Regions from separate parts of the Homo sapiens genome. Here regions 2, 3, 4, 5 and 6 are each linked to region 1. Evidence: promoter capture Hi-C in 16 types of primary human blood cells and fetal thymus (Javierre and others, 2016). All regions are on one chromosome and are shown on one strand. Each heading gives the region's core, a stretch centred on a gene start or on the middle of the fragment in contact. The rest is flanking DNA. Distances are from core to core; before and after follow the strand shown. Region 1 holds the start of EGFLAM-AS2 (EGFLAM antisense RNA 2). Region 2 overlaps OSMR-DT (OSMR divergent transcript). Region 3 has its middle 40 kb from the start of LINC01265. Region 4 overlaps OSMR (oncostatin M receptor). Region 5 overlaps OSMR-DT (OSMR divergent transcript). Region 6 overlaps OSMR-DT (OSMR divergent transcript).

Region 1 (3,408 bases), core at 257-2,756:
ATCTTTTGGGGAACATTCAGTTGGCATTTTTATTCAACTGTCATCCGCAGAATCCACTGATCCACAGCGCTCTGATTTAGGTTGCACATGGGAAACACTCCACCAGGAGGTGGCAGCCTTTTAAAGAGCGGCTCCAGGGCACCTGCATGTCCTCACAGTGGATTTGGGCCAGCACAGGTATTAACTTGCTGCCCTCTCTCAACTGAAAAAGCCAGGCACCAGCCTTTAGGGCAGTAACAACTTTGGCAACAGAAACTGGCTTTGGTAGGATGCTGCCACTCATTAGTTATTAGACATCCAGTGTTTGGATGCCTAGTGGAAAAGAAAAAGGAAAAATAACATAAAAAGCATAAAAAACATAAACTAAACTTAAAGACATTTTGCTTTCAGAATAAGCTAAGTCATGCACCATTCTCAGGAAGACAAACTCACCCTCCTACATTGTCTGTCCAGGCTGCTACAACAAAAGTACCATAAACTGATGGCTTGTAAACCACAAACATTTATTTTTCACAGTTCTGCAGGCTGTGAAGTCCCAGATCAAAGGGCTGGCAGTATCTGATGAGGGCACAGATGGTGCCTTCTCACTGCATCTTCACATGGTGGAAAGGGCAAACCAGCCCCTTTGGGCCTCTTTAATAAGGGCACTGATCCCATTCACAAGGACTCCACCCTTATGATCTAAGTACCTCCCAAAGGCCCCTCCTTGGGGGTTAGGATTTCAACATATGAATTTGAGGGAGACATAAACATTCCGACCATAGCACTCCTCCAAACAGAATAGCAATCAGATTGAAAATGGAGTGGAAGGAAATGGCAGAAAGTCATTTTTGTCAGGGGGCGTGCTGTTGACCAGAAATCAATCTCCTCCCAGACCAGACGAGAGAAGTGCAGTCAGCAGATGATGCAGATGACCCAGAGACAGGGTGGAGTGAGCTGTTCTCAGGGGTTCGGGCACTTCTTGGTGGAGGTGGGATAACAAAGGGGAGGCGGTGTTCTCATCCCTTCCACACCAATTCCCCAGTTTTATTTAAAGTAGTCCACCTGTCAACTGAAAATTCAACCTGTCGATGCCAGATTTATACCTGGATGCATGTTCTCTCAAGCCACCTGCATGCAGCGTATCTGTGTGCCAGATGTCTTCACACAAAAGGCCCTTGAGGACAGCTCCTTCCTCTTGTCTCTATCTTTGTACAGCAAGCAGTCCCCCTTATCTGTATTTTTGCTTTCTGCAATTTCATTTACCCTCGATCAACCACAGTCCAAAAATATTAAATGGGAAATTCCAGAAATAAACAATTCATAAGTTCTGAGTAGCACGATGAAATAGCACACTGCCCTGCTCCATCCTGCCTGGGATATGAATCATCCCTCTGTCTGGCATATCCGTGCTCCATATGCTCCCTGCCCCATGGTCTGCAGCCGTCTCAGTTGTCAGATTCACTGTCATGGTATCGAAGTGCTTATGTTCCAGTAACCATTATCTGACTTCATAATGGCCCCACAGTGCAAGAGCAGTGATTCTGGGATTCAGATATGCCAAAGAGAAGCCATGAAGTGCATCTTTTAAATTAAAAGGTGAAAGTTCTCAACTGAATTAAGGAAAGAAAAAAATCATATGCTGAGGTTGCTAAGATCTATGGCAAGAATGAATCTTCTATCTGTGAAACTGTGAAGAAGGAAAATGAAATTTATGCTAGTTCTGCTGCATATATAGGGTTCAGTATTATCTGCAGTTTCAGGTATCCACTGGGAATCTTGGAACACATCCCCTGCGGAGAGGGAACTACTGTATCTATCTCTCTCGGCCCCTCTCTCTCTTTCTCTTTCTCCCCTCTGTCCTTTCCCTCACTCTTCATTTCTATCTCTGCCTCTCTCACATATTCAGAATTGTTAGATTCCAGAAGAAGAAATCCATTTGGTAGTAAAAGAATTATACAGCACATACATAAAGCAAGCTGGCTTTTGTCTTCAGTAGTTTGGTCTCTCTCCTTCCAGGCTGTTCTTCCTTGCCCTGTGCACCTTATTAACACATTCTCAACAAGGTTAAGATTCTCTTCATCTTTATCCTATGATTTCCTATCTGAAAAATCACCTTCAGTGACTCTCCACTGCCTACAACATAAATTCTAGGCTTCTTGGTCAAGAATTCAAGGTTCTCAATTAAAACAGCTCCTTTTTTCCTCCTTCTTCCCCCATCACCATGATTTATTGAATTCTACTCCATCTCCTCTTCTTATCAGGTACTATTGGGTGCTTAACATGATATATTTCTAAACTTTTCAATAATCTTACAAGGTAAGTATGACTAATCCATTTTATACATAAGAAAACTGAGTTAAGAGTAGTTAAGTAATTTACCTAAAATTGAAGACTTTATAACTGGCTGAGCTAAACTCAAATCCAAGGTCTGTCTGGTGACTGCTCTCCTAATCGCCTATTGCAGAAGAAGCCACTGTGGAGGTAGAAAGATCCTAGAATTTGAGAAAATTACCATATGTTGATCATTCTTAGTGTGCCAGGAGCTTTTCATACATCGCTTAAGTTAATCCTCACAAAATACTATAAAATTGGTGTTATTACTTCCATTTTACCAAGTGGAGATATAGACACAGAGAGATTAAATAACTTGCTCAAGGCAGACAGATGGGGAATGGCAGGGCTAGATTTTATCCTTGGTCTCTCTTTTGACTACATCATGCTACTTAATCTGAATCCTAATTATGTTTTCAGGTTTTTGTTGTTTTTTAAAAAATACTCTTTAAAAGCTATATAATAGCCAAACTGGCCTGCCAGTTGTCTCCTGAATGCATCTTGTATTTTCTTACCCTAGGATTTTGGTTAATGCTTTTTCCCATTGTCATCTTTTTCCCACTCCTATCTCCTTACACACAGCCTACCTATTCTCCCAGAGGGCATGCATTCTATGGAGACAGAGCTGAATGTGTGCCATCAGAAGACCAAAATCAAGCGACATTTTAAAAAGAAAACAGACTCTTCTGGGAAAAATGGTGACTCCACAAAGTAAGAAGCCACCAAGACTTGTAGGACATTCCTTCATCTTCTCCTGGATGGGGCAACCCAGCCATGGATATATGCCTCCAATCAGCATAAATGCCCATTGCTTGATAAAGTCAACACACGTGTAAGATGGTATGTAGATCTTCTGGGCTCCTGGCCTTAGACTCTTGCCCTTGTGTTTACCAACTCGATTGTAAATCCTTTGAGGGCAGAAACCATATTTTAGATTTCTTCATATCCTTTCCCTTCCTCCATGTCACTAACACTTCATGTACTCAACAAAGGTCAACACCTTTGAGAGGAGTGACAGGAGACACTCCCACAGTGCTGAACTATGTCCTGCCCTTGCTCAACATGGTGGGACTCTGCCTCCCAATCCAAAGACCC
Region 2 (3,396 bases), core at 305-2,804, 430 kb before region 1:
GGATTCTGTGTAAGGCAACCTCACAAGACTCTTGCTGAAGACAGGCCAGGGTGATAAGACATCACCTGGGAGATGGTGAATGATAAAGAACCTGATCAGATATTGAGGGTGGGTGGGGTAGGGGGTGGTCTTGCTAAACTGACTTAACAGAGTTCTTGCTAAAACTAGATTTTACGAGGAAATACACATATGAGCCTACGAGAGGGTTCAGGACTCTGACTAAAGTTTGGCCAAGCGAAGGATTTTTGTCACGGTGCCCCAATGCATACAGACAAGGAATCTGGCAAAATCCCCAAAGATGTTATCTTATGTGGAATCCCCTGGAAGCACAGGGACACACTGGTAAGGCAATTCCCTGGAGCAACTTAGGTTTCCAATTGCTTCCTTGAAAATATGCAAACTAACTTTTTTAATGACCTCGAGTTATACAAGGTTGAGCAAGTAAGGAAAACATTATATAGGTAGGAAAGAATGGGGGGTGGGATAGGGACACAAAGGAACGTTTAGGTTTGTAAAGTGCTTATTGCGTGCCAGGGATCAGGGCTGCTACCTATACTGGTGCAATGTGCTGGCCCACCCACAAGCTCTAAGGCACCTCTGCACACATTAGAGAAAAGTAGGTGCAGGGTTTAGCAGAAAGACAGAGATTTCGTGTGAAGCCAAACATGCCCTATTCTTGGGTATATGCAGCTGCATGTCGAGACACACAACTTGGCAAGAAAAGGGGACTTGAATGTGGTTCCTGCTCACCTCCGCCCTGCTGGCCAAGGACCTTGGTGGAGTGCACCAACCCCCAGCTATATCAGCAACCTCCAGTTTTGCCAATGCCAAAGGCCCCCAACCAAGAAAAATAGTGAGAGCTAAAATCTAGCCCTTGCTTTGCTGGCCCTGAGCCCTGTGTCAATCTGGAGGGGTCACCCTTGTGTAATAAGCACAAAGTTACCTTTGTGCCAGTGGCCCTGACTGTATGTTGTGTCATCCTCTAATTCCCCTGTGAGGTAGTCAGAGTGGATTTACTGTGAAGCTAATGACACAGACTTTTCCATAGACCCAGAGAGAGGCTCAAGGATTGGTTTACATGGTCATGTTTTGTCCTAACATTTGCAAAAGCAGGATAATTTAACTGTATAATTATAATAATGTAAACTTGCATAAAATTTCACCTAAAAATATTGCCATAGCAACTTTTGAAGACAAGTACAATTATTACCCCATTTTATAACTGAGACAGAGAAAAGCTCAGTAGCATTGCTGTTGAGTGGTAGGTAGAGCTTGAATTTGTTGCAAGCTGGCTGACTCCAAGGCCAAAAGATCATGGGGAATATGTATATTGTTTCCAAGAAGACAAAGTTTCCAAGAGCATCCTACAAGGTGCTGTTCATTCTTGCCCCAAATTCTCCAGATGTCATGAGATATAGAAGAGAAACATCTTTCGATGTTGTTCTAGTCAGAGGAGACTTCTAATAGGCAGAGAACAAGTTATGGAAGCTGTTCCTGAAAGATGCAGTTGTCATTGTGGAACCAGTCTTGGATATTGTGTGGCAGCTGGACCACACAGCCATTGTTATAAAGGAGAGCAATATGCCTTGTGACCCTTGTATTATTTAGGGTATAGTCTTTCAGGGAGAAACAACTTTTCCTCTGTCCTCTTAGGTTCAGTATCTGGGGGCCTGTGAATTAAACTAACAAAAGATAGATTAATGAGAGAAAAAGCGTGCAATTTTTGCTAATATTTATATGCACAAGAGTTCACAGAAAAGAAGTGAAACTCAAAGAAGTAGTTAGACTTCTAGTTTACATATAATTTTAATAAAGGAAAATTTGAACTTCAAGGGATGATAAATCATGGGGAAGTAACTAGGAAATATATGGGGGAAACTAACAGAAGATAAAGGTTCTTTTCCTAAGGTCTGTTATGCAGATTTATCTTGGTGCCAACTCTCCATCTCTGGTGATATAAGTTGCTCTCCTTTTCCTGATACAGGAGATAGACACCATAACAAAGGGAAACTCATGCCCAACTTCTAGGCAGATAAAGGGAGGGTGGAGAACTCTTCTACATCTGTTGATTTTCAGTTGCCTTTGGGTCAAAATAAACCTTACGTTAAAGTGGCATATTTTGGGGTAGCGTATCCTGATCCCCTTCAAGTAAAGAAAAAAAAAAAAACAACAACACTGTGGCTTACCTAAAATCTAAATTTATCTCCCTCCCATTTAACAGTCCAGAATAAGTGGCCTGGGTCGGTAGGACAGCTTTATCATGCTCAATATATGGCTCCCAAGATTTCTTCAGCCAGCCATCACCTAAGGCACAAGTGAGAGTCCCTTTGGTTCAGACAGAATCACATGGTCACATCTAGCTGCTTAAGAAGACAAGAAATTAGTCTCTAGCTGGGCTCGTGTAAAACTTGGGGATTCTTTTACCAAAAAAAATAGAAGGGAAGATGGATATTGGGAGATTATTGGCAGTATCTACCAAAGTCATGAAGCCAACAATGGTTTGACTTAGGGAACTCTGGGGGTTGAGGACTGTGAGTATGATGTAAAAATTAATGTGAATTTTAGGACAAAGAAGATGAATAAGAGAGACAGCTTTCCCTGGGGGTAATGGGATACAGGTTGCACGAGGCAAAAAGAAAAGTGGAGCACAGAGACAGCCACTTCAGGGAACTTTCCTGTGCTGTGGGTGAGGATAATTCCACAACAAGAAGATACAAAGAAAATCTGAGAGTCACTTCTGTTCACTCACAAGATGATTTGCGAGACCCAAGAAGAAGACCTGTTAGCTTAGAGAACAGGGAGAGGATTTTTTTTTTTTTAATGACACAAAGGAGAAAGATTGAAACTTTTCTAGTCTATCCACGGCAGAGTTTATCAATCCTTTACTGAGGAACGATTCACTATCACACAAGGTCTCATGGATGGTAACCACATCCTTCCTCTTCCTTCCTCAACCAACCTCTGTAAAGAGTATTCTAGGACTCATTGTCTCTACCTTCTCATCTTTCTACCAATGAAGCAGCTCCTGTTTTGGTGTTGAGGGACATTGTTATTGCCCAATTCAGCAGTACTTTACATTCTTACATGGTGTTTCTCTGCGTCACCTATTTTAAATAATTAACCATTTCCTTCTTCCTCATATTATTTCTTGTCATGATTTCTATGACATCAGTTTCTCCTAATTCTCTCCAGCTTCATCTTCTCATTCTCCTCCCTAAACTGCTTGTCTACTTACATCGTGGTTTGTTAGAAAGAGTAGATTGGCTCACTCAAGTTGATCTTAACCTCCTCCTGAGTTTCAGGGGCTGGAAAGCTAAAAAGCTACATATCCTAAACTCCTTTGTTTCTTGAGTTCCAGACATATTTTAGATTCTGCCAATCAGATGGACTCATATA
Region 3 (3,505 bases), core at 434-2,933, 280 kb before region 1:
GTACCAGACACGTTTCTGAATTCTGAAGATACAAAAGTAGGCAAGATAGACAAAGTTCTTCCCTCTAGGAGCTTACATTTAGGTAGAGAAGCATTTTTAAACCCACAAAATAATTGCACAGATCCGACCCGACGATGTACAAAGAAAGCTTTTGAAAGTTATCGAGACTATATCAATGTCTGGTACTGTTGCAGTGAGATGCCAGAGGCAGAAATGAGAACTTGATTTGAGAATATCTAAAAAATGTCTGGCAGAAGGCAGAGAAATGCACTAGTGTGGGCAAATACAAATTGTTTTTGTTTCTATTGGGTTTTCCTTTGGGATAAATTCCTGGAAATTTTTTCTAAACTTGTGCACAGTAAAAGACTTATTCCAAATAACTCCGTTTGGAGATATGTACTCTTCAGAGGTAATGGGAAATGTGAATCGAATGAGCATCATATTAGAATCATGCATTACAATCTTCAAATAATTAATATGGCTTGAATTAATCTAACCATAGAATTACTATTCTAAATCAAATGTTGTTCTGAAATCCAAATATGTGAAGTCCAATTTGTTTTCCTTCATTCCCTAATTTTTAAGTTCTTTCCAAAAGAATTAGCAAATTTCCCTGGACTCACTTTCTCTTTTTAAATCCCCAAAGTCACTTATTTCTTAACTGGTTTTGGTTGCGTTATAACTGCATTTGTTGGATTGTTCCAGCTCGAAAGTTGGCTATTTGACAACATATAAAGGGCCAGCTAATTCTACTTGGGAAATTACTGCTTCAGTGAACTTACTAAATAACACCCTAATGAATTGAAAGAGTTAAAACAAGTTTCTAAACAGCTTCATTTCCAATCAGGGAATAGCTTATGTGCTGGGAGCTTGTGTCAAAACATAAAGAGTTATGAATTCCTAACAAAATAACTGTCCAACAAAGAAGAAAACCAGCAGATGATATATGGAGAGAATGTCATATCCTGGAGCCAAAATGTAAAATGGAAGATGTATTCACCAGGCCTACAGATGAGGCAAGTCTATATAACTTGAGCTTTCAGTCCCTCTGCAAGTGAACAACTGAAGATAATGATCCCGCACCCCTGTGCTGATTGCATCATGAGCTTGCTTGTGTTCTGATGTTTAGCATTGTTACTGGGAGGATGGTACCACCATTTTGCCAAATAACCCAAGTTTAAATATTCATTTTATGTCATAGGTTCCTGCCAATGTGCATAGCAGGTTTATAAATTGTACTTTTGTTTATAGGCTTAGTCTCAAAAGCAAAAAAGCTTAAGGTTTTCTATTTTGATTGAAGTAGAAAACACGTGAAGATATTTGCTCAATCTGGCTACCTGGTATGGCATGCAAGGTTTGTACATTTTAAATGTGGCATAGGAACATAAAATGATATTTAAAAAGTAATCTTCTAGAACTTAGAAACCCTAAGGAATTTTGTCTCTTTTCAGCACATTCTCGTTGGGAGGTCATATACTGACTCTAGTTGTCTTGTTTTTCCTCTAAACATTTGGAACTCCTCTCGCAGAATTGTCTTCAGAGCCTGCAGAGCATTTTTCTGAAAGTCCTACTCTGTGCCAAGTCTTCTTCCTTTGGGGTGGGATGGGGGATGGGAGTCAGTGGAAGACAGTGAATTTAATGATTTCTGGAAAGAGCCAAAAGTCATCCAGAGGCCAAGCTGGTCAATGGCATGAGTATAACCATTTGGGGTTAAAAAAAAAAAAGAAAACAAAAAGACTGTCTATAAAGTGTGGAGCCTGGCCCTGTCGTCCAGCCTGTGAAGTGATGATTTGAAGGCAGTCCTCCAAGAGGCGTTCCCAAGCAGTTTGGCCCATGACTGTCATTCTCTGAATAAATGTATAGAATCTTCAGAAGTGGCTACTTTTGAAGTAGTATTTCAAACACTCATTTTTATATGATCCAGAGTTTGGTTCACAAACCATCATCGTCATACATAGAGAAGAGTCATCATTTGCTGTGGATCTGGAATCAAGATAAAGACTGGTAAACACATTTTCTTGATAACACAGAGAAAAGAAAATAATTTGTTGTGAATGTCTTCATTGTTCTTCCTCCCCCCACCCCAAGCTTGGTTAGGATTCAACCATTGTTTATGCATCTACAGTATATGCCCTAATATAAGGCAATGTCAAATATGAGACACTCCCATTGCCCAAGTAAATGCTCCCCTTCCCGTCACCAAAAATTCTAGGAACATAGCTAAAAATCATGAATCATCTGCTTAAAAATAGTTAATGTATTAATTTAGTTATACACATATTATAAATCATTTTATATATACTTATAAAATTGATGTGTTAATATCGTTTTATATAAGCATATTAACTTTTTATTTTTTTGAGACAGGGTCTCACTCTGTCACCCAGGCTAAAGTGCCACTGCCATGATCATGTGAGACATGATCATGGCTCACAGTAGCCTCAGCCACCCCAGGCTCAAGTGATCCTCCCACCTTAGCCTCCCACATAGCTGGGACTATAGGTGCACACCACCATGCTCAGCTAATTTGTATATTTTTTTGTTGAGATGGAGTCTCACCATGTTGCCCAGACTGGTCTCAAACTCCTGGGCTCGAGAGAACTACCCACCTTGGCCTCCCAAAGTGCTGGCATTACAGGCATGAGCCCCCATGCCCAGTCCCATTTTATATATTATCTTATATTTCACATAAAGATATCTGGTAATTGACATATTTTTCCTCCATCATATCTCAATTTTATCCCAAGCCACAGCATAGTATTAGGACAGTTTTCTCTCATTCTTCCTGAAGTTGCATATTCTGAATGTTTACTATGCAATCACTTACTGTAATACTTCAAAAAAGTGATATTTAAAAGGCTCACTCACATTAACACCCATTCTTGAAAATGTAAGGCCATTCACCCAAATGAAAGAATGATTAAATATTTATCAAAGTTCACAAATCCTACTTATAGACATTCAAATCTAGCATTAATTCAGGGTGTTTCAGGATAATGTGTCTTCCCTGAAAAGAACTGTGTTATTCAAAATTAAATAGTGAAGAAAACATCCTATGATTGGTGCCAATGAAAATAAAATGGTTCCTTCTTTCCAAGAAGAAATTTTGGGACATCAGTACCTGGTATTTGACTGTAAGTAGAGTTACAGATTTGCTCTGTCACCCTAAAAAGATTGAACATCTTTTTTTTTTTTTTTTTTTTTTAAGACAGGATCTCACTGTGTCACCCAGGCTGGAGTGCAGTGGCGTGATCTCGGCTCATTGCAACCTCCACCTCCCAGGCTCAGGCAATTCTCCCACCAATTGAACATCTTTCTGTATTTTCATTTCTGTTGAAAGGGCTAAAACAGATAGCCAACAGAAGTCAGAGTTCACAGGAAGAATTGTGATTAGAAAGACAGTGCTGAATGGACACTGGTCACTCAGAAAGAGGGAGGGTGGAAAGAGGGCTAGGAATAAAAAAACTACTTATTGGGCTGGGCGCGGTGGCTCATGCCTATAATC
Region 4 (3,444 bases), core at 156-2,655, 450 kb before region 1:
TTGCTAAGTGACGTACATGCATTTATTAATTGAATCCTCACAACAGCGCTAAGAAAAGGATTATATTATTATTCCCATTCACAGAGGAGGAAATTAAGGATAAGAAAGTTGACAAGTAATTTATCCAAACTGACCCAGTTAATCTGATGTGTAGCCAATATTTGAAATCAGATAAGTCATTAACCAAAGTTCACATGACACAGTTTCCTTAAAGCTTGGAGCTCATACCAAAGTGGACATTAAAGCATTAAAAATTGCTAACAATTATAAACTCAATAAAATCTTAATTAAAAATAGGATTTTATTAAACTTGACAGGCTATTTGTAAAGAGAAAATGTATGTGATTTATAAAAAAAGTTGTTTTAAAAAGCACAAATATATACCACAAGATTTTCAAAAACACTATAAAGCTACAGTAGTTAACTCAGAGTAATATTGGTTTAGGGAAAAACAAACAAAAAAAAAGATCAATGAAACAGAATAGAATCCTGACACAGACCCTTTTACAAACAGGAATTTATTTAATGATAAAAACAGAATTTCAAATGAGTTGGAAAAAAGATGAATTATTAAATAAATGCTATTGGATCAGCTGTCTAAAACTTTACAAAAATATTAAGTTACATCGTTACCTTCCACTTCGTATCTATCAAGTGGAAAAAGGGGCAAACCCTTTGACACAGGAATACCTCTCCTCAGATTCTCTTCCACAGAAATACTCACACTTGAGCAGGAAGATGAATGTGTGATCTGCTCTGAAGCAACGTTGCTAATGCTGAATGTCCATCAATATAGGAAAGGATGGATAAATTACATTCTATTTCTACTTTAGGATAACATGTAGCTGGCCGGGCGCAGTGGCTCACGCCTGTAATCCTAGCACTGTGGGAGGCCAAGGCAGGTGGACTGCTTGAACCCAGGAGTTCAAGACCAGTCTGGGCATCATGGAGAGACCCAATCTTTACAAAAAATACAAAAAAAAAAAAGTCAGGTGTGGTGTCATGTGCCTGTAGTTCCAGCTTCTCAGGAGGCTGAGGTGGGAGGATCACTTGAGCCCAGAAGGTCGAGGCTGCAGTGAGCCATGATCATGACACTGCACTTCTGCCTGTGTGACAGAGTGAGACCATCTCACACACACACAAAAAGAATAACACGTAGCCATTAACAAAAGAGGTATCTAGAGACAATGGAAAGATCTCTAAGACTTGGAAAGTGAAAAAGCAAGCTGTACAATAAGTATAGTAAGATAATTTGCATATTTAAAACATATGTATATGTATGTATTATGTAAAACTATAGAAAAGAAAAACAAGCCTTAGAATGGTATTATCAAACTTAACCTTCCCTCTTCTGAGTGGGAGGAGGGAGGATGGTGATGGCACGTCTACATTTCACTTCACTTCTATATTGAGTGAGAATGAGTTGTTATTATTTGTATTATTTTTAAAACACAAAAATAGAATACAACGTGGAGTGCACAAATGCAGAGCGACCAGTACAACTAAAATGAGGAGGGAAGGAAGGCTATGAAGCCACCAACACAGCTGTTGGAAAAGAAATTCTCTCTTCATGTAGCTACAAAGAAGCCTGCTTGGAGGAGGGGATTTCTCCAGCAAGGCCATGATATTCTATTTGTTTTGGTTTGGGTTTTTTTCCCCCCATTTTACACATTTTTTAAGCAATCAAGAAGGATTTTCTCCCCCAGCGAAAGGAGGGCCAAGGCTCACAGTTCCTGTAAGTGAGCAAGACCACACTCACTAAGATTCTCTTCTACTGCAGCCAATGAATGCCCCAGTCCTTTCCCACAAGGAAAATACACACCTTCTTCTTGTTAAATACAGTACCACTGATTCCCCTTTGAAAACCGTAACAGTTCTCCTGATTCGGTTTTGTCCTCAGGACAAAAGGGTTACAAAAACATGAGAGATCCAGGAACACCTCTGCATGTGTTCCTGGTCTGTTCAGGTTAAAGAAAAGGGTAGAGGGGGAAAGAACCAGTGTTTATGTGTTCTCCCCAATGCGGCTCGGGTCCCTGCGGAAGAAACACCCAAGACCAGCCTTTTTCTCTCAAAGCCACCTTTGATACAAAAGGCTTAGCCACACCTGCTGGGACAAACGGGAACTGGGACCAAGATGTAAGTCACAAGGAGGCAATTTACAGCAGAGAACTAGCTCTTCCTACAATAAAATGTGAGGTGGTGAGCTTCCTGCCACTGGAGGCACTGAACAAATGCTACGGGGAAAACAAACTGAGTATTTCCTGAAGATTCTGAATAGAAGGCTGTGTTTGGAGTTTGATGCTTTGAAAGCTCAAGAAATGATTCTCAGACACAGCGGAGTTTGGGGACATCAAGGGCTCTGAGTGCATTTTAAAGCAGCCCAGGAGAGAGACAAAGCAAGACCATAATGAAACACCCCACCCAGTCTTAGAGTTTGAGCTACAGCACGGTGATCATGAGCAGACTCCAAACCCAAATCCTGATACTGTCACCTGCTAGCTGTGTAACCCTAGAAAAGTTACAAAACCTCTTTGGGCCTCAGTTTCCTCAATAAAATATAATAAAAAACTAGTACCCGCCTCACCCGTGAAGCTTAAATGAGCTAGCATATGTCAAGTGCTTAGAATAGGGGCTGGTTCACAGTAAGTATGAACCATTATTATTTGCAGACAAGGAAACTAAGAGGTGATAAGTAGTTTGACCCATGTTCCAAAGTCAGTTTTAATCTTGGGAATAAAACCTAAAAATTTCTTTCTCCTCCATCAGAATTCCTTCTAGCTCAAACTAAGTATCCTACATTCAATTCTATCTTCTCTGCCTTCATAGACCCTTCCATTTACTTCTCTTGAATATCTTGTTCCCAAAGTGTTTTCAAGGCAGGTCTGTTACCAAGCCACTCCATCAGCAGCACCTAGCACTGTGCCTCCCGCAGCAAGGCAGGCAGGATGGATGGACGGATGCAGGCATGCATGGGTAGGTGGATGAAGGGCAGATGAAGAACTATCGAGAAAGGAATCGCGGTGTCAGGGGTAAAGCCCTGGCCTGCGAGAGCCGGGCTCGGATTTCAGTGCCCTCACAGCTAGCCATATGGCCTTGGACAAGTTACTGAACCCCTCCGTGCCTAGGTTTCCAGAATGTAGAGGGCCACTTCCACTCAAGTGGCTGGAGAAGAAGGTAAGCGCCCCGGACGGACGCTATTGCAGAGTCGCCCGGGGATTCCTCTCTCCACCTGTGCTTGAGCTCCTCCCGCTTCTACGCTAGGGACCAGGTGGGAGAGATACACGGATTCCCAGAAAAATGGCTCTCTCAGGTGGGAGTCAAGGGTTACGAGAGGAGAGGTAGGGGAAGCAATGAACTCCTCCACACGATGTGTTGGGAGAGAGGAAAGAGGGATTCAAGTGGGAATTTTCCACTCAACAAACATTCCACCATCATTTGAGAAAA
Region 5 (3,372 bases), core at 155-2,654, 400 kb before region 1:
AGCCTCTCTTACCTTTCCTGAAGTTAATATTGCAGTGCCTAAAAAGGCTCTTTTCCCAAGGATTCTGTAAAGTCTAATAGCATTACAGAGCATGGGAGGGGTGATGAAACCAGCCAGCTTGCTCTATTTTACTGCCATAAGTGCAAACCTCTACACCTAGGGGTGTGTGTGTGTGTGTGTGTGTGTGTGTGCACGTGCATATGTATGGGGCAGGGAAGGGAAGGGAGATTATGGGAGAGAGACCTTCCTGGGCATTGGAAAGGTGACTGTGATGGTTAGTTTTATGTGTCAACTTGGAGAGTATTTTTGGATGAATTTAACATTTAATTTGATGAACATTAATAGCAGATTGCCCTCCATAATGAGGGTGGGTCTTAGCCAATTGAAGGCCTGAATAGAACAAAAAGACCAGCCTCCCCGAGCAGGGGTGAATCCTCCTGCAGACCGCCTTTGGACCTCATCTGCACCATCAGCCCTCCTGGGTCCCTAGCCTACCAGTCCACACTATAACAGCCTGCATAACTGTGTGAACCAATTCCTTATAGTAATTCTCTTTATATATGTACAAGTATCTCCATCCCATCGGTAGATCCCCATCCAATAGGTCTGTTTCTCTGGAGAACTCTGACTACTCCAGTCTTTTGTGAACTTCCCTATTTCCTCACTCTTCTCTTCTCTCTTTACATCCTACAGTTGTTTCCCTTAAGTCTTCATCCCCTCTGTTATTGCAGGTGGGGTTCCCTGGGAAGCAGACTCTGAGACAGAGTTAAGAGTACAGGATGTTTATCAGGCAGTGCCCTTGGGATCAACATCTGGGAAAAGGATGGAGCAGAGTAGGATTGGGTTGAAGGAGAAGTAGAACTTCGAAGTGACCAATAGCAACCTCAGCCAACTGCAAGGGGAGCTCTGAAGCTTACATGGCCTGCCAGACCTGTTCCATGCTGGGCTGAAAGGCAGGCCCCAATGTGCCAACCTCAATCAGCCATTAAGTGTGGGCTGCCTGCGGGACAGCAAGCCCTTGGGTCAGGCATCTCTCTGCAGCTAAGACTGACCTGAAGGGCTGGAGGTGAAGGCTGTCCACCACCTGCACCCCTGACAGGTGAGGCAATGGGGCCTTCCTGCATGTGGAAGCTGGGTGGTGCGTCTTTATGTCCACCATACCTTAGTTGGAGACTGTCATCCACCTGTAGACATTTCCCCCATTTTTAAGTACCTGATGATTATCCGGATGCTTAGCTACCCCCAATAAAGACAACAGTTCTCAACCTCTCTTGGAGCTAGGTGCGGCTCTGTGACTCCTTTTTGGGCAATGGAATATTAGCAGAAATGTGTGTGCAGCTTCCACAGCGTATCCTTAAGTGGAAGAGTAGGTGTTTTTCTTCTCTCCTTTTCCTTCTTACTGACTGGGAGACAGATGTAATAACTTGGGCTCCAGCAGCCACTTGGACCATGAAGTTACCTTGGAAATGAAAAGTGTATGTGGCATAAAGTTAGAGAAGACTCTTCGCCCCGTAGATTATTTACCAGCCCAGCTCTGGCTGCCTCTAGACCTCTTGAACATGAGAGAGACGTAATCTTTCTTATTTCAGTCACTCTCACTCAGGAATTTTCTGTTTCTTACAGCTGAAACCAATTCTGATATATAGATAGTCCCTGACTTATGATGGTTTCACTTACAATCTTTGGACCTTAAGAGGGTATGAAAGTGATACATATTCAGTAGAAGGCAATAGGATACTCTCTTTCGATGCTGGGTGGTGCCAGTGAACTGCAGCTCCCAGTCAGCCACGTGATCGCAAGAGTAAACAACCAATGCTCTGCTGTGTACCGTATTCAGTAAGTTACATGAGATATTTGACACTTCATTGTAAAATAGGCTTTGTGTCAGAAGCTTTTGCCCAACTCTAGACTAATGTAAGTGTTCTGAGCACGTTTAACATAAATGAGACTAAGCTATAATGTTCAATAGGTTAGGTGTATCAAATGCATTTTGACTCATGATATTTTCAACTTCATAATGGGTTTATCGGGATGTAACCCCACTATAAATCCAGGATCATCTGTATTATCTCATCGTTCTTCCTCTACTTCTCTTGCTAAGATAAAGCCCACCACTGCATAGAAAAATAATCAAGTCCTACACCATTGGGTTCTTTCTAGTGTCTTGAAACCTCAGTCATCATCTCCAGTGGTCTTTCTCCTTGGCCCATGTCTATTACTCTGGCCTCTGAGACCACTGGCTTGGAGAGGGGGTGGTATACATATAGGACTCAGCTTTGACCAGTGGGAAAGAGTGAAGGGACTTTTACTCTGACCTGTGACTAGTTCTCTCTCTGAATCTCCAAATTTAAAGTCACCTCATATAACAAGGATTAATTTCCTTCTAAATATACCCATTTGATTTGCATGAAAAACTCATATTCCTTCTATTTGCATACATTTGGCTCTATTTCATGCAAACCAGGGCTGAAACCCTTTAGTAGTATTGAAGCCTGTTTTTAGTGCTGTAAACCTTTTGAGAGGGACTCGGCTTCTCCTTGCTCTGGGTTACATTGTCATATTGTATTACCCTCACTGACAATGAAGGGTTTCCACCCAAATGGCTTTCCCCATCCTTAGAGTAAGGGCTGGGGATGGAATAAATTTCACTTTCCTTTGCATTCCAAACCTGGGGGCAACCTGGGCGAAGACTGAGAACTGGGGAGAGTGGAGATAGAAAAAAAAGAGAAAACATTCAGAAGGAGTGGCAGAAAGGCATCCATAACCTATTGTGAAGGACAGTCTCTAAGGTGGCCTCATGATCTTCGCACTGGGATATTCGTGCCCTTATCCCTTCCCTTGAGTGTGGGTGGGCCCTGTGGCTTACTTCTAATCAACAGAATACAGCAAAAGTAATTATATGTAGGTGACCACAATTTATACTCCTACCTCATGAGGAGCCCCCCTCTTCTGCTGCCTTTGAAGAAGAAAGCTGCAGCATCGTGAGCTGCCCATAGAGAGGACGGTGTGGCAAGGAGCTGAGAGTCTGTCTCTGACCAACAGCCAACAAGAAATGGAAGCCCTCAGTCCTGTAACTGCAAGGAACTGAATGCTGCCAGCAACCTGAAAGAGCTCAGAACTGGGTTCTTTTACAGTTAAGACTGCCACCCCAACTAACACCTTGATTGCGGCCTTATGAGATCCTAGGTAGAGGATCCCTGACCCATGGAAACTGTGAGATAATAAATGTGTGCTGTTTTAAGCTAGTAAACTTCTGGTAATATTGCTACACAACAGTAGATAATTAATACATCCATAATAAGGACTTTGGCCTTAGAAAGGGAAAGGAAATTCAAATTTGTTTGATGAAGACTTTTGAGAGCAAAATAACTG
Region 6 (3,683 bases), core at 384-2,883, 380 kb before region 1:
TTTATTTATTTCCCAAGATGATATTCCGGGCTGATCTTGAACTTTTCCTGTCCTAGCCATGAAATAAGCTGTATCTTCAAGTGACCCTGCTTTCTTTCAGTGGAGAATAGTGTAGTATTTAGAGACAAAAAAATCTGTGCACTATATGTGCTCATTGCTACTGAACTGTAATTGCTATGAGGCCTTCTCAGGGACGTAAGAAATAGACATATGTGTATACACCTCTATGCATACATCTATATCCATGTGGATGTAGATATAACATGTCTATATACCTGTTGATATATAGATATAGAAGTAAAATAATATCTATTGGTCCTTTGCTTTAGTTAGAAAACCCAAGCATCAGCCAGTTGCAGTGGCTCATGCCTGTAATTCCAGCACTTTGGGAGGCCAAGGCAGGCAGATCATTTGAGGTCGGGAGTTCAAGACCAGCCTGACTAACATGGAGAAACCCCGTCTCTACTAAAAATACAAAATTAGCTGGGCATGGTGGCCCATGCCTGTAATCCCAGCTACTTGGGAGGCTGAGGCTGGAGAATCGCTTGAACCTAGGAGTTGGAGGTTGCAGTGAGCTGAGATTGAGCCATTGCACTCCAGACTGGGCAACAAGAGCGAAACCCTGTCTCAAGAAAAAAAAAAAAAAAAAGAAAACTCAACCATCTATAAAATAGATAAATATGTATCGATATAAATCATGAATTTATACTGATACTTCCAGTTCTAATTCAACATACTGTTCTTTGACAGTGAGAAATCTGGCCCTGTTATCCTAAATATATTTACCTGTTTAATCCTAGAATATACTGAAAGCAGTTTCATAATTGCTGATCCATACAACAGTGATAAACAACTCAACTAACTAGACTTTAATATTTATTCATCATTCTTATCTTCAGCTTAAGGGTTGTATTAGCCTGTTCTCATGCTGCTATTAAGACATTCCTAAGACTGGGTAATTTATAAAGGAAACAGGTTTAATGGAGTCACAGTTCCACATGGCTGGGAGGCCTCACAATAATGGTGGAAGATGAAAGAAGAGCAAAGGGACATCTTACATGGCAGCAGGCAAGAGAGAGCTTGTGTAGGGGAACTCCTCTTTATAAAATAATCAGATCTCATGAGACTTATTCACTGTCATGAGAACAGCACAGGAAAGACCCACTGCCATGATTCAATTACCTCTCACTGGGTCCCTCCCACAATAGGTGGGAATTATGGGAGCTACAATTCAAGATGAGATTTGGGTGGGGCACAGCCAAACCATATCATTCCACACCTGGCCCCTCCCAAATTTCATGTCCTCACGTTTCAAAACCAATCATGCCTTCCCAACAATCCCCCAAAGTCTTAACCCATTTCAACATTAACTCAAAAGTCCACAGTCCAAAGTATAATCTGAGACAAGGCAAGTGCCTTCTGTCTGTGAGCCTGTAAAATCGAAAGCAAGTTAGTTACTTCCTAGATAAATGGGGATGCATGCATTGGGTAAATACACCCATTCCATATGGGAGAAACTGGCCAAAACAAAGGGGCTACAGGCCCCATGCAAGTCCAAAATCCAACACAGCAGTCAAATCTTAAAGCTCCAAAATGATCTCATTTGACTCCATGTCTCACATCCGGGTCACGCTGATGCAAGAGGTGGGTTCCCACGGTCTTGGGCAGCTCTGACCCTGATGGATTTTCAGGGTATAGCCTCCCTCCCAGCTGCTTTCATGGGCTGGCATTGAGCCTCTGTGGCATTTTCAGGCACGCAGTGCAAGCTGTTGGTGGATCTACCATTCTTGGGTCTGGAGGATGAAGGCCCTCTTCTCACAGCTCCACTAGGCAGTGCCCCAGTGGGGACTCACTGTGGAGGCTCCTACCCCACATTTCCCTTCCACACTGCCCTACAGAGGTTCTCCGTGAGGGTTCCACCCCTGCAGCCAACTTATGCCTGGACATCCAGGCATTTCCATGCATCCTCTGAAATCTAGGCAAGGGTTCCCAAACCTCAATTCTTGACTTCTGCACACTCACAAGCTCAACACCATGTGGAAGCTGCCAAGGCTTGGGTCTTGCACCCTCTGAAGTCATGGCTTGAAGTCATGGCTTGAGCTGTATCTTGGCCCCTTTTTGCCACAGCTGGAGCACCTGGGAGGCAGGGCCTCAAATCCCTAGGCTGCAAGAGTAGGAGGGCCTTGGGCCTGGCCTATGAAACCATTTTTTTCCTCCTAGGCCTCTGGGCCTGTAATGAGAGGGGCTGCTGTGAAGGTCTTTGACGCCCTGGAGACATTTTCCCCATTGTCTTGGTAAGTAACATTTGGCTCCTTGTTACTTTTGCAAATTTCTGCAGCCTGCTTGAATTTCTCCACAGAAAATGGGTTATTCTTTTCTATAGTATTGTCAGGCTGCAAATTTTCTGAACTTTTATGCTCTGCTTCCCTTTTAAACATAAGTTCCAATTCCAAACCATATCTTGGTGAATACATAAAACTGAATGCTTTTAACAGCACACAAGTCACCTCTTGAATGCTTTGCTGCTTAGAAATTTCTTCCACCAGTTGCCCTAAATCATCTCCCTCAAGTTCAAAGTTCCACAAATCTCTAGGGCAGGGTTAGAATACCACCAGTCTCTTTGCTAAATAACAGCAAGAGTCACCTTTGCTCTAGTTCCCAAAAAGTTCCTCATCTTCTTGTGAGACCACCTCAGCCTGGACTTTATTGTCCATATCACTATTAGCATTTTGGTCAAAGTCATTCAACAAGTCACTAGGAGGTTCCAAACTTTCCCACATCTCTCTGTCTTCTGAGCCCTCCAAACTGTTCCAACCTCTGCCTGTTACCAAGTTCCAAATCCACTTTCACATTTTTGGATATCTTTACAGAAGCACCCCACTACCTGGTGCCAATTAACTGTATTAGTCTGTTCTCATGCTACTAATAGAGACATACCTGAGACATGGTAATTTATAAAGGAAAGAGGTTTAATGGCCTCAAGTTCCATATGGCTGGGGAAGCCTCACAATCATGGTAGAAGGTGAAGAAAACCATCAGAAAACCTTTATAAAACCATCAGATCTTATTCACTATCCCAAGAACAGCATGGGAAAGACCCAACCCCATGATTCAATAATCCCCCACCAGGTCCCTCCCACGACTTGTGGGAATTATGGGAGCTACAAGATGAGATTTGGGTGGGGACACAGCCAAACCATATCAAAGGTATACCTCTATTATACCACTTTTGACCAATTATTTGTTTACAAAATGTTTTTCTACTAGAACATAAGTGCATTGAAGGCAGGGACACATTTTTGCTTTTTTAAAAACGTGTCCAAAGCCTAGCAAAGGATCTGAGACATGTAAGGTACTCCATCAATGGTAGTTGAATTAATCAATGAATGACTCAAACACTCAATTATTCCCATTGCCTATAGGAGGAAGTCTATTATTCAAAGCTTCTTACAAATCCTGTGTCTCACATTTCCCTAATGGATCTTCCTGTACATAGAACCAACTATCTATCCAACATATCTTGCATTCCCAGCCCTCTGCCCTCTTATTTATGCTATTCTTTTTGTCATGAATGTTATTTCTCTAGTCTTTCCACTTTAATATCATTTAAATAAATCTTTTTAAAAATATCTCATTTAAATCTCTCTTTTTAAGAACAAAATGCTCATAACATATTGCTCTGA

What was found. Contacts are between HindIII fragments. The CHiCAGO score rates a contact against its expected background, and 5 or more counts as called.
Region 2: a fragment that was not itself captured here is called in contact with the fragment with the promoter of EGFLAM-AS2 in region 1 in 5 of 17 cell types (M1 macrophages, M2 macrophages, M0 macrophages and 2 more); the score reaches 10.9 in M1 macrophages.
Region 3: a fragment that was not itself captured here is called in contact with the fragment with the promoter of EGFLAM-AS2 in region 1 in 1 of 17 cell types (endothelial precursors); the score reaches 5.2 in endothelial precursors.
Region 4: a contact is called between a fragment that was not itself captured here and the fragment with the promoter of EGFLAM-AS2 in region 1, in 1 of 17 cell types (M0 macrophages). The highest score is 6.2, in M0 macrophages.
Region 5: a fragment that was not itself captured here is called in contact with the fragment with the promoter of EGFLAM-AS2 in region 1 in 10 of 17 cell types (M1 macrophages, M0 macrophages, M2 macrophages and 7 more); the score reaches 14.5 in M1 macrophages.
Region 6: a fragment that was not itself captured here is called in contact with the fragment with the promoter of EGFLAM-AS2 in region 1 in 4 of 17 cell types (M1 macrophages, erythroblasts, M0 macrophages and 1 more); the score reaches 8.1 in M1 macrophages.

The regions. Positions count from the first base shown.
Region 1 is chr5:38,401,569-38,404,976 of GRCh38, reverse strand. It overlaps EGFLAM-AS2 (EGFLAM antisense RNA 2), which reads left to right and starts at 1,506. Exons shown (of 3, transcript NR_102750.1): 1 at 1,506-1,578; 2 at 2,896-3,153. All of the region lies in intron 6 of EGFLAM (EGF like, fibronectin type III and laminin G domains), which reads right to left. The HindIII fragment of the contact is 8,755 bases long and covers 1-3,408 here.
Region 2 is chr5:38,828,213-38,831,608 of GRCh38, reverse strand. All of the region lies in intron 1 of OSMR-DT (OSMR divergent transcript), which reads left to right. Among named protein-coding and RNA genes, the nearest start is that of OSMR-DT, 16 kb to the left of the region's middle. RefSeq lists an enhancer at 464-1,663. The HindIII fragment of the contact is 6,043 bases long and covers 1-3,396 here.
Region 3 is chr5:38,678,802-38,682,306 of GRCh38, reverse strand. No RefSeq gene overlaps it. Among named protein-coding and RNA genes, the nearest start is that of LINC01265, 40 kb to the left of the region's middle. The HindIII fragment of the contact is 814 bases long and covers 1,277-2,090 here.
Region 4 is chr5:38,846,481-38,849,924 of GRCh38, reverse strand. All of the region lies in intron 1 of OSMR (oncostatin M receptor), which reads right to left. Among named protein-coding and RNA genes, the nearest start is that of OSMR, 2.2 kb to the right of the region's middle. The HindIII fragment of the contact is 2,378 bases long and covers 217-2,594 here.
Region 5 is chr5:38,801,843-38,805,214 of GRCh38, reverse strand. All of the region lies in intron 1 of OSMR-DT (OSMR divergent transcript), which reads left to right. Among named protein-coding and RNA genes, the nearest start is that of OSMR-DT, 42 kb to the left of the region's middle. The HindIII fragment of the contact is 979 bases long and covers 915-1,893 here.
Region 6 is chr5:38,785,115-38,788,797 of GRCh38, reverse strand. All of the region lies in intron 2 of OSMR-DT (OSMR divergent transcript), which reads left to right. The region is part of intron 1 of LOC107986414 (a long non-coding RNA gene); the gene reads right to left. Among named protein-coding and RNA genes, the nearest start is that of OSMR-DT, 59 kb to the left of the region's middle. The HindIII fragment of the contact is 3,625 bases long and covers 1-3,445 here.